Regions from separate parts of the Homo sapiens genome. Here region 1 is linked to region 2. Evidence: promoter capture Hi-C in 16 types of primary human blood cells and fetal thymus (Javierre and others, 2016). All regions are on one chromosome and are shown on one strand. The core of a region is centred on a gene start or on the middle of the fragment in contact, and the rest is flanking DNA. Distances in the headings are between cores, read along the strand shown. Region 1 overlaps NHS (NHS actin remodeling regulator). Region 2 holds the start of RBBP7 (RB binding protein 7, chromatin remodeling factor).

Evidence for each region. The method cuts DNA at HindIII sites, captures the fragments that hold promoters and counts their contacts. A CHiCAGO score of 5 or more calls a contact.
Region 1: a fragment that was not itself captured here is called in contact with the fragment with the promoter of RBBP7 in region 2 in 1 of 17 cell types (neutrophils); the score reaches 6.1 in neutrophils.

Annotation. Positions count from the first base shown.
Region 1 is chrX:17,728,838-17,733,487 of GRCh38, forward strand. It overlaps NHS (NHS actin remodeling regulator), which reads left to right. Exons shown (of 9, transcript NM_001291867.2): 9 at 3,021-4,650. The coding sequence ends at 3,627. Among named protein-coding and RNA genes, the nearest start is that of SCML1, 6.3 kb to the right of the region's middle. The HindIII fragment of the contact is 2,810 bases long and covers 1,974-4,650 here.
Region 2 is chrX:16,866,788-16,871,841 of GRCh38, forward strand. It overlaps RBBP7 (RB binding protein 7, chromatin remodeling factor), which reads right to left and starts at 3,575. Exons shown (of 12, transcript NM_002893.4): 1 at 3,251-3,575; 2 at 2,289-2,433. The coding sequence starts at 3,266. RefSeq lists enhancers at 2,492-2,581, 3,591-4,269 and silencers at 2,802-3,141, 3,162-3,211, 3,542-3,851. The HindIII fragment of the contact is 7,607 bases long and covers 1-5,054 here.

The sequences.
Region 1 (4,650 bases), core at 2,129-4,628, 860 kb after region 2:
TACTTCTCACAAATGCAAATACAGGAAAGCTTTTTGTAATTGTAATACATTCAGCAAAAACAAAAGCAAGCAAAGAATAATTTTTCCAAATCAAGTTGATAGACTGATATGCAAGTTGGGAAATAGGATCTTTATATAGAGTTTGATAGACCTCGATTGAGAGACTTTTGTAAGAGTGGCTTTATTTTTCCCCAGGAAAAGACATTCTGGAACAAGTTTTTATGTGAAAACAATCTGTGGTTAAGTGACTTGGAGTGAAAGCTCAAACTCTAGTGTAATCTCTGACTTTTGAATACTTTCTTGAACCTAAAAAATATGATCAAAGCTGTAGTCATACACCAGCAGAGACAAACAGAAGTTGATTCACCATGGATGCACCAAAATCTCAGAAATCACCACTAAAGAACTTATTCATGTAACCAAATACCACCTCTTCCCCCAAAACTTATTGAAATAAAAAATAAAAAACTCACATTGTACCCTATAACTATATACAATTATTTGTCAGCTTAAAATAAAATAAAACTTAGAGAACACACACACACACAAAGTTGATCACAAAACAGTCTCAAGTTTGAGAAAAGACAATACGTGTTCCTGTCCATTTTATAGCTCAGAACAAGTAATAATTTCTCTGTTTTTCTTTCTTCTTAGAACTTAAATTTCTTTAATAGTACTGGCCTTCATCCCCAAAATTAATGCCCATATTCCATGAATACAGGTCTTTTGGGTTGCTTTTCCAGGACAGTGTTGTGTCCATGCTGCAAAGGCATATTTCCTCATCTGCCCCCATGAGCCCTTGTGATCCATGGTCCATATTTGCAAAAATTATTCCTTATAGCTAATGACCAAAGAACAGAACAGGAACTAGCCCTTGGACACCTAATCTACATATAACTGAGCTAGCCAATCATGATTTGCCATGCCTCCTCCTTTCACAAACACAACTGTCTTCTTAGACCTCGGGAACCTAGATGGAACTCCCAAGAGATACAACTTGGGGATTGTCTTTTCTACCTCATAAAGTTATCATTTTTGAAACAAATTCATCGTAAGCAGCTTACAATCTTTTTCTCCTGGAATTCTACTTTTTATAGGAATTTCTGTTTTCTGTTGATGTGGTTCTCTCATAAAGAAGGAGTACTGCTGTTCAACAATTGTTTTAAAAGGAGCCAATCAGAAACACCTTCTATGTATACCTTAGCAGGCATACTTCTCTACTCAGAGGGTGAAGAACCATTAGTTTCTTTTCCTTCACCCCTGTGCCTAGTCTAAGCTCTGATTATATTTCCCTCACCCCCACAGTTTATCTTCAATCCCAGGAAAAATTACTAAACTGCTATGTAAGTTAAAAAGTTACTCCCAAAGGACCAAATGCTAGTGTATGGAATAGTGGACAGGACGTAAATAGTGGGGTCAGAAAGACCTGGATTTGAATCCCAACTCTGCCACTTCCTATGCAGTCTTGAGTAAGTTAAAACCTCTGGACCTACTCCCTTATTGCACATGGGAATGCCTATAGCTCACGTATTTGATTTTGATGATAACATTTTTTGTGTTTAGAATATGGTAGGTGCTAAAAGCCATTGTTAGTTTGAAAGCCCTAACTTAGTGGAGTGCCAGACACTGCCATATACAAGATATCAACCACAGAGGTTTCTGTGAACCAAAATCAAGCATATCTACACTTGTGAAGTTCACATTTTCTCTACCATATGAATCTTTAAGTTGATGAAAGTGCATGCTGCCTATCAATGAACTGAGTCATACTGAAGATCCACCAAATTTATGCCTGCTGATTTACCAAAGAAAATCAATAATATGATGATGGGAGTCAAGGTTCAATAGATGTATTGAGTTTGGTAATCTTAGACTTGCATTTGTGCAGGGTTTACTTATTTATCTATTTACTTGTTTATTTACATCACAGCAAAAAGAATTATTTTGTTTTCTTGCGAGCTTACAGTATACAAAGCTTTAAGAGCTCCAGAGATGGTCTGGGATTTCAATTCCCCACAGAGAGCTGGCTTACTGCTTAATATGCTCTTGATGCTCTTAGGAAGCTATAGGAAATGATACTTGCAGCCCAAGATGAATTGACTTAAAACGTCATTTAATTATGTTTTTATATGGAGGGATTTTAAAAGGTAGAATAGTATAATGTCTGCTGACATATCCATCATCCAGGATTATCAACTGTCAAACTAGGGCCAATCCTGTCCCACCCACACCTCCATCCACTTGCTTTCTCTGGTATTATTTGGAAGCCAATCCCAGACATCAGATCATTTCATCTGTATTGCAGAGACAGAGTTAATAAGAAAAAGTTATAGTCTTTCACCCCCTGGAACCAGAAGTATAGTTTAGTTAGCAGTATAGTTTCTTCCTTTTTTTTTTTTTTTTTTTTTTTTTTTTGAGGCAGAGTCTTGCTCTGTCGCCCAGGCTGCTGGAGTGCAATGGCGTGATCTCAGCTCACTGCAACCTCCGCCTCCCGGGTTCAAGTGATTCTCCTGCCTCAGCTTCCTGAGTAGCTGGGACTACAGGCATGCTCCATCATGCCCGGCTAATTTTTGTATTTTTAGTAGAGACGGGGTTTCACCATGTTGGCCAGGATGGTCTCGAACTCCTGACCTCAAGTGATCTGCCTATCTCGGCCTACCAAAGTGCTGGGATTACAGGTGTGAGCCACTGCGCCTGGCTGTTAGCAGTATAGTTTCTTAAACTTTTACAAAGTATCCTCTAGAACCTCTAGCCTCCACATTAGCCATTATCTGAAATGATCATCTCTAGAACCTAATTTGTGTCCTGGTTATCAGAGAATTTCTCTCAGACTGTGGGTGCTACAAGGACAAGGAACATATCTTACTTTTCATCTCTATAGCCCTAATGCTTAGTATCCCATCATATAGGACAGGCTCAAAATGCACTTTAGACAGATGTGTGAATGCGACTGAATACTTCAGTTTCATAAAAACGTGAACTGAGTGAGATGTTTGCCCCATTTTCTCCTTTTCTCAAAGATCCAAGAGGAAAGTACTTGGAAGAAAAGATTCCGGGGACATGTCTGTTCGAAGCAAATCGAGAGCTCCCCTCAGCAGTAGCAGCAGCAGCGCCAGTTCCATCACTTCACCCAGCAGTAATGTGACAACCCCCAACAGCCAGAGGTCTCCTGGTCTCATATACCGAAATGCCAAAAAGTCCAACACATCCAATGAAGAGTTTAAGCTGTTACTGCTCAAGAAAGGCAGTCGCTCAGATTCTAGTTACCGCATGTCTGCCACTGAGATCCTGAAGAGCCCCATACTGCCCAAACCTCCTGGGGAGCTCACAGCAGAGTCCCCTCAGAGCACCGATGATGCCCATCAGGGGTCACAAGGGGCTGAGGCATTGTCCCCACTCTCTCCATGCTCCCCACGAGTTAATGCAGAAGGCTTTTCCTCGAAGAGCTTTGCCACCTCAGCATCAGCAAGGGTTGGACGTTCTCGGGCCCCTCCTGCAGCCAGCAGCAGCCGCTACAGTGTCCGCTGCCGGCTGTACAATACGCCCATGCAGGCAATCTCCGAGGGAGAGACGGAAAATTCTGACGGGAGCCCACATGACGACCGTTCCTCCCAGAGTTCAACATAGACTGCCTGTACCAGGCTGCCTGGCAAAGGCCAAAACCCTTACTCACATGAGGATGGAGGAACAGAACAGAGGACTTGGGAAAAGTCTCAACTTGATGGGGTAGCATCACTGCTAAGCAATGAATGAATTTCTAAATACAGTATGTGCTGGGTAAACAGAAAGTGGTTTAGACATTCTTGATTAGTTTCCATATTTTAAGTAGCTGCAGTCTTTCATGTTTTTCTTTAGCATAGTTTGATTTACGCAATCTCCTTCCTTGTGAAAATAGAGGATACAAAATTGTCTAATTTTCATGACACCTAGAAAACGTTTTCCCAGAGCTGCCTATTCAGAAACTAAAGCCCTCACTGTCATTATTCTTTAAGAAGATGAAATTACTCTGGATGTTTGGTATTTTTTTACATTAAAACAAACTAAAGCAAAATTTAGAAGAAAGAACTACACATATGTAAATACCATATTTTTGATAAAAATGTGTAAATAGATTTATCAATGATGAGTGGACATGTGGTCAATTATCTACTGCACACCAACTGTTTATAGAATACACAAAAATAAAATGTAATAACTGTATTCTGTGAATACCATTTTCATATCAAATGCCATATTTAAATGTCCACCAATATGATTTCTGAGTGGTAAACCTCAAATATGAATTTTAAACTGGTGAACTAAAGGAAATCTTGAGGTCATATACTGAAATATGAATAAATTAAAATAATGAATTCAGATCTAATCATTTTTATGACAAATTGCAGCACCAAACAAACTAATAGCAACCCATGGCTGTGATTTGTTGTGTGGTAATTTGGACAGAATGAAAAGCATGCTTTTGATTTTTTTTTTAATCAGTGAGAGAAGTCATCATTCTCAACACAAAGCCCTGAACAACAGCATTTGACAGTGTCCTTTAGATTTTAATTTTTTCAATGGATTGCTTTAAAGAGAATGAGTAGGGAAAATAGTAGTTAATTTTAGGTTATGTTTTATATTAGGCTACTGGGGACATAAACGGTCATAACT
Region 2 (5,054 bases), core at 2,325-4,824:
CAGTCCCTTTATACCCCAAACTGAACCCTGCAAAGCACCACACAACAATCCTCAACATCCAAGAATGCAGGCTGCTTGGCATTTTCTTACATTCTCTAAGCCACTGCACATCCCACAACCCAATCCCACAACAGCTTTGTATACAAAGAACACCATGATACACATTAAATAATTTAATTAAAGCATTTTGTTACATTCCTAAGTATTACATATTATAGGTAACATTTTTTTAAAAAAAACTTCAGCAAGTAGCTTTCATTGAAATCCAAATGAAGAAACAGAGCTATTTCAATCCTGACAAATTATTTCTGAACAGGAAGGGGTGGGAGAATCAGCATCAGTCACCACTTACCGTGTACTTATGCTGCACCAGGCACTTTAACATGCATGATCTTATTTCATTCCCTCAAATGTAGGTAGTCAGTATGACCAACATCTCCATTTACAGCCCAGACAACACGGCCCCAGTTCATGAAGCTAAGAAGTAGGGGCATGATTTTAACCCAGGTCTCTAAGTTTAAAGCCCCTGCTGTTTTCTATTATGTTACAGTGGGTCAAAAAGATCCCCCAAAAGGTAAATTTAGTTAATACATTTTAAATCTGCTTAACAGACCAAAGAGGCAAATGCACACGATGCTCCAAACCAGAACTTGAATACCCGAGTATATGATGCTTAATCTATTTTTCAATCTGTTGTGGCTGTAAACGTCAATGCTTCCAAGTCTCCATCATTTAGTTCTTCTCTACTCTTCCCACATCTGTACATTTATATTTAGATTTTTGGGAAGCCTAGTGGAAATTCCTATCTGTATAGAAATCAATGTTTGCATATGGAGAACCCGGCCACTGTAAGAGCAGTTTTATATACATTAGATTATTATTATAATAATTATTTTTATTTTTAAGAGATGGAGTCTCGCTCTCGCCCAGGCTGGAGTGCAGTGGTGCGATGTTGGCTCACTGCAACCTCCGCCTCCCAGGTTCAAGCAATTCTCCTGCCTCTGCCTCCCTGTAGCCTGTAGCTAGGACTACAGGTACACGCTGCCACGCCCGGTTTTTTTTTTTTTTTGGTATTTTAGTAGAGATGGGATTTCACCTTGTTGCCTGGGCTGGTTTTGAACTCCTGAGCTCAGGCAATCCGCCTGCCTCGGCCTCCCGAAGTGCTACGATTACAGGCGTGAGCCACCGCACCCAGCCAAAATTAGCTTATTATTTTTATAACTTGTTGCAAAATCCTCTTTTTAGGTTAGAGTTTCATTTAATCCTCTTTAAATTATATGTCCGCAACACCCAAATTTAAGATGCTTGTTTTTTGTTTCTTTGAGAGACACGGTCTCACTCTGTTGGCTAAGCTAGAATGCAGTGGCGCAATCATGGCTCACTGCAGCCTTGAACTCCTGAGCTCAAGCTAACCTTCCAAAGCACTAGGATTACAGGAGTATAAACCACTGTGCCTGACCCCATATTTAATACACTTTAAAAGTACATGGTCAAGTTCCTACTAGAAAAGGTGCAAGTGAATGAGAAAGGCAGTCTAATGCAGGGACCAGCTGTGTGATCTTGGGATGGCACTTAAACTCTCACTCCCAGTTTCCTTATCAGTAAAACAAGGATGATGAAAAGTACCTACAGCATAGTACTATTATGAGGATTACAACAAACAACAGGACGTAGATTCTTCAGATGTGCCAGGCCCTGTTCTGAGTGCTCAATAAATGCCAGCAATTATTACCAGAGAAACTGCAGATGTAACAGAAAAGAATACTCTTATGAAGACTAACAGCAATCTCAAAGTGTATTCCATAAGCCGATAACATCTTTTCTTTGGTCAATTGTTGACAAGGTCTTTTTCCCTTTACCAATTAAAATGTATTTATCTTGGATGACTGTTACGTGTGTTCACTTTGTAAAAATTTATCAAGCCATACAACACTTAAGATGTGTGAACTTTTCCGTAAATATTCTATTTTTCAGTAAAGTTTTAAAGAAACGCATTAGTTTGGGCCCAGAAAGATGCTGCTCTACATTCAAGCCCAGGAAATGTCAAATATATTCAGTGCTTCCTCCAAACACGATTAATCTCACAACAGCTTCTTTCTCCCCTTTTACCACCACACTATACACCAGAAATCATCCCACAAATCACGTAAGTTTTGAAAATAAAAACCACCTGCCACCTCATGCAAGGGCTGATTACATACTTATGTTCTATGCATAAAACGCCAAAACTAGGAAATTCAGAACGACAGTTAAATTTAAACAAAATAAAAGTTGCCAGAAACCCTTACTTAGTCACTTCAGGAAGCCACTGAACGGTAAGACTGGGCCACTGAAGAGCATGGGTCATAACCAGGTCATATAGAAACGGTGTATTCTTCTTCCAGATTTTATATTCTTCATTGATGACACGCTCCTCCACAGTATCTTCAAACACTGAAATTTGGAGAAAGCCCACACGATTAAGTGGCTGAGATAGATCAAAGTCAGAAATTGGAGGTCACCTCAAGATGGCCACACCTCATGTACTCTTTCCTTTTACCTCTAATTTGGACACGGACAACTAACTGCTCTTCCAGAAGGTGGAGAAAATACTAACAATCAGGAAGCCTATTTTTTCCATTGAGATCAATACCCCCTGCGTACACCATGTTGGGTAGTCAATTACACGGACATGGAAATTGTTTACCCTGTTACAGCTGTTCGCACCTGTTCTAAGATGACGACCTGTACGTACAGGGGCTGCGCGACCCAGTCGGGAAGACAAATGCACGTGTAGCAGAAGCCCACAGGCCTGGTCTCTCCAATCCCCATCAGGGGAGGCCCCAGCTCCCACGACGCCCGCCTCGGCAGCCATAGGCCTGAGGACCCCAGCAACCCCCGGACAAGGGCCGCGACCCCGAGGCGGTCAACGCGCGCGCGCGCGTAGAAAGAGCCGCGGCGCTCGCTTCCCAGCGGCGGGGGCCGCCTCCGCCCCGGGGCCGAGGGCGCCGGAGGGAGCGCAGCCGCTGGAGGAGGGAAGGGAAGAGGGGGGCCCAGCCCTCGGCCCCGCGCCCGGCTCCGGAAGTGCTCGGAGCCCTCGGCGCGGCGGTCCCGTCCCGCGCAGGCCCCTCGAGGCGCGCGCCCAGTCTCGCGCCCGGCCCCGCCCCCTGCTCCGCACGCCAATTCGCGCCTTTCGCCGGCGCGTGCCGCGGCCTCGCGCGCCCGCCGCCCCCCGCGGCCCCGGCGCGCGCCGCCCCGCAGGGCCTCTTACTCTCTTTACTCGCCATCTTGCGTCGGGTCGTTCGCCCCTCGCCGCCGCCTCGGACTCCTCTCGTTAGCCAAGAGCAGCCCGACCGCTGGCGCTCCTGCCTTTCCCAAGCGCGTCACACTCCCCACTGTCGAAAGCCCGGGCCCCGTCTTGCTGCCTGGGTGCTCCCCAGACGCCGCGTCCTTCTTTCCTGCCTCCTCCCCGCTCGCGGGTACCGAGGTCTGAGGCGCTCTTCTCTCTCTCTCCAAACTTGGAACGAGACTTTTCAACCCGCGCCTCCCAGCCCGCCCAGGCAGCTGAGCGCAGGCGCATCCGCCCTGGGAAAAGTGAGAGGAGGCGGAGAGGCGGGTCTGGGAGCCAACGGCTCCGGCGCCGAGACCAATGACGCGCGGCGGGCGGGTTTCACGCGGCGTTCGGAGGCGGGCTTCTGGGGGTGGGCGGAGCGTGCCGCGGCAGGAAGTTGGCGATGCGCAGGCGCGAGGGCTCGCCCGGCGCTCCCAGGGCCGGCCGCGGAGGCGGATGGGGCGCGCGGGGGCGGGGCGGATGAGGGCCCGAGGGGGCGGGGCGGATGGGGGCGCGCGAGGGCGGGGCTGATGGAGGCGCGGCTGGCCGGCTGAGTGGGGGCCGCGAGCCCCGGGGCGGCGAGCCTTGGGGCCCGCGGGGCGTGGTTGCTTGTAGCGGCAGCGGTGGTGGGGGTGAGAGGGGGGCAGGGAGGCTGCCGCCGCTTAGCCAAGCAAAATCTCAGAGCAAGAGGGGAAAATGGTTCCTGTTCTCGAGAGATTACTGTGCCTTCAAAGTCTCCCTGATAATCACGGACATGCAATTCTCTGCACCCCTGAAATGTTCTCCTCCAGCCGACTGGCCTTTCCTGGGGCCCGGTCGGGCCGAGGTGGGGCTGGTCTCAGACGGAGGAGAGCTTTTGGAGAGGCCGCGGGCGTTTTCTGCCTGCAAAAGCCGCCGGGCCGCCCTGTTAGGCTAAATGTGCAGCCTGTGGCGGCACAGGCCGCCGGCGGGCCGAAGCCGATTTACACTGTTACATTTTAATTTGTTCGATGTTTGGGTCCTTAAGATGATGGTTTGCGGCCTCTTCGCGCTTCAGGGGATTTTGTCCCTGCACTGGCGTTCCTTTCTCATCCCAGCCCCGGCCCCTGCTGAGTCATTTTTGTCACCTGCAGGGGTCCCAGCGCGACCCCACCCCAAGCTGGCGGAGCTGGAGAGAGCAGGGCTGAACTACCCTGGGCCTGCTTACCTGAGCCCTGCTCTGCTCAGGAACTTCATAGCCCCTGAGGAGTGTGTCGGGGGAGGAGAAAGCTGGCTGCAAGGCCAAAAGGGAAATAGAAGAAAATGAGGGCCAGGAGCAGAGGGGACGGAGTTGGGGGAGGCGACCAAGGTGCCTGCGTGCAAAGGGAACCGAAGTGTACGTCCAGCTCCGGGAGAGGCTCCTCTTGCAAAAGCACCCCCGGAACATTTGCTGCCTTGATACCTTTCCAAGTGCCTTCATGCTCAGATGCTATCTTGCAGATGCCGCTGTCATGCCCACTTTTCTGACCGGGACGCAAACCCAGACGTTAGTCAGTGGCAGAACCAGTCACATTCCCTTCTGTAGATATTTACTGTGTTGTTTCCGATACAATACCGTTCATTATTATAACGCCCTCCCCCCATTCTGGGTCAAGGAATCTTGTTAGTGCCTAAGGCTGAGGGGGTGGCTAGAGAGGGAAGAGAGTTGGAAGGGTGTTTAAGCAATACAGCCCTCATATTCTAGGACATTAGTTGGCAAGACTTTTTCTAAAAGGACCGAGATAGT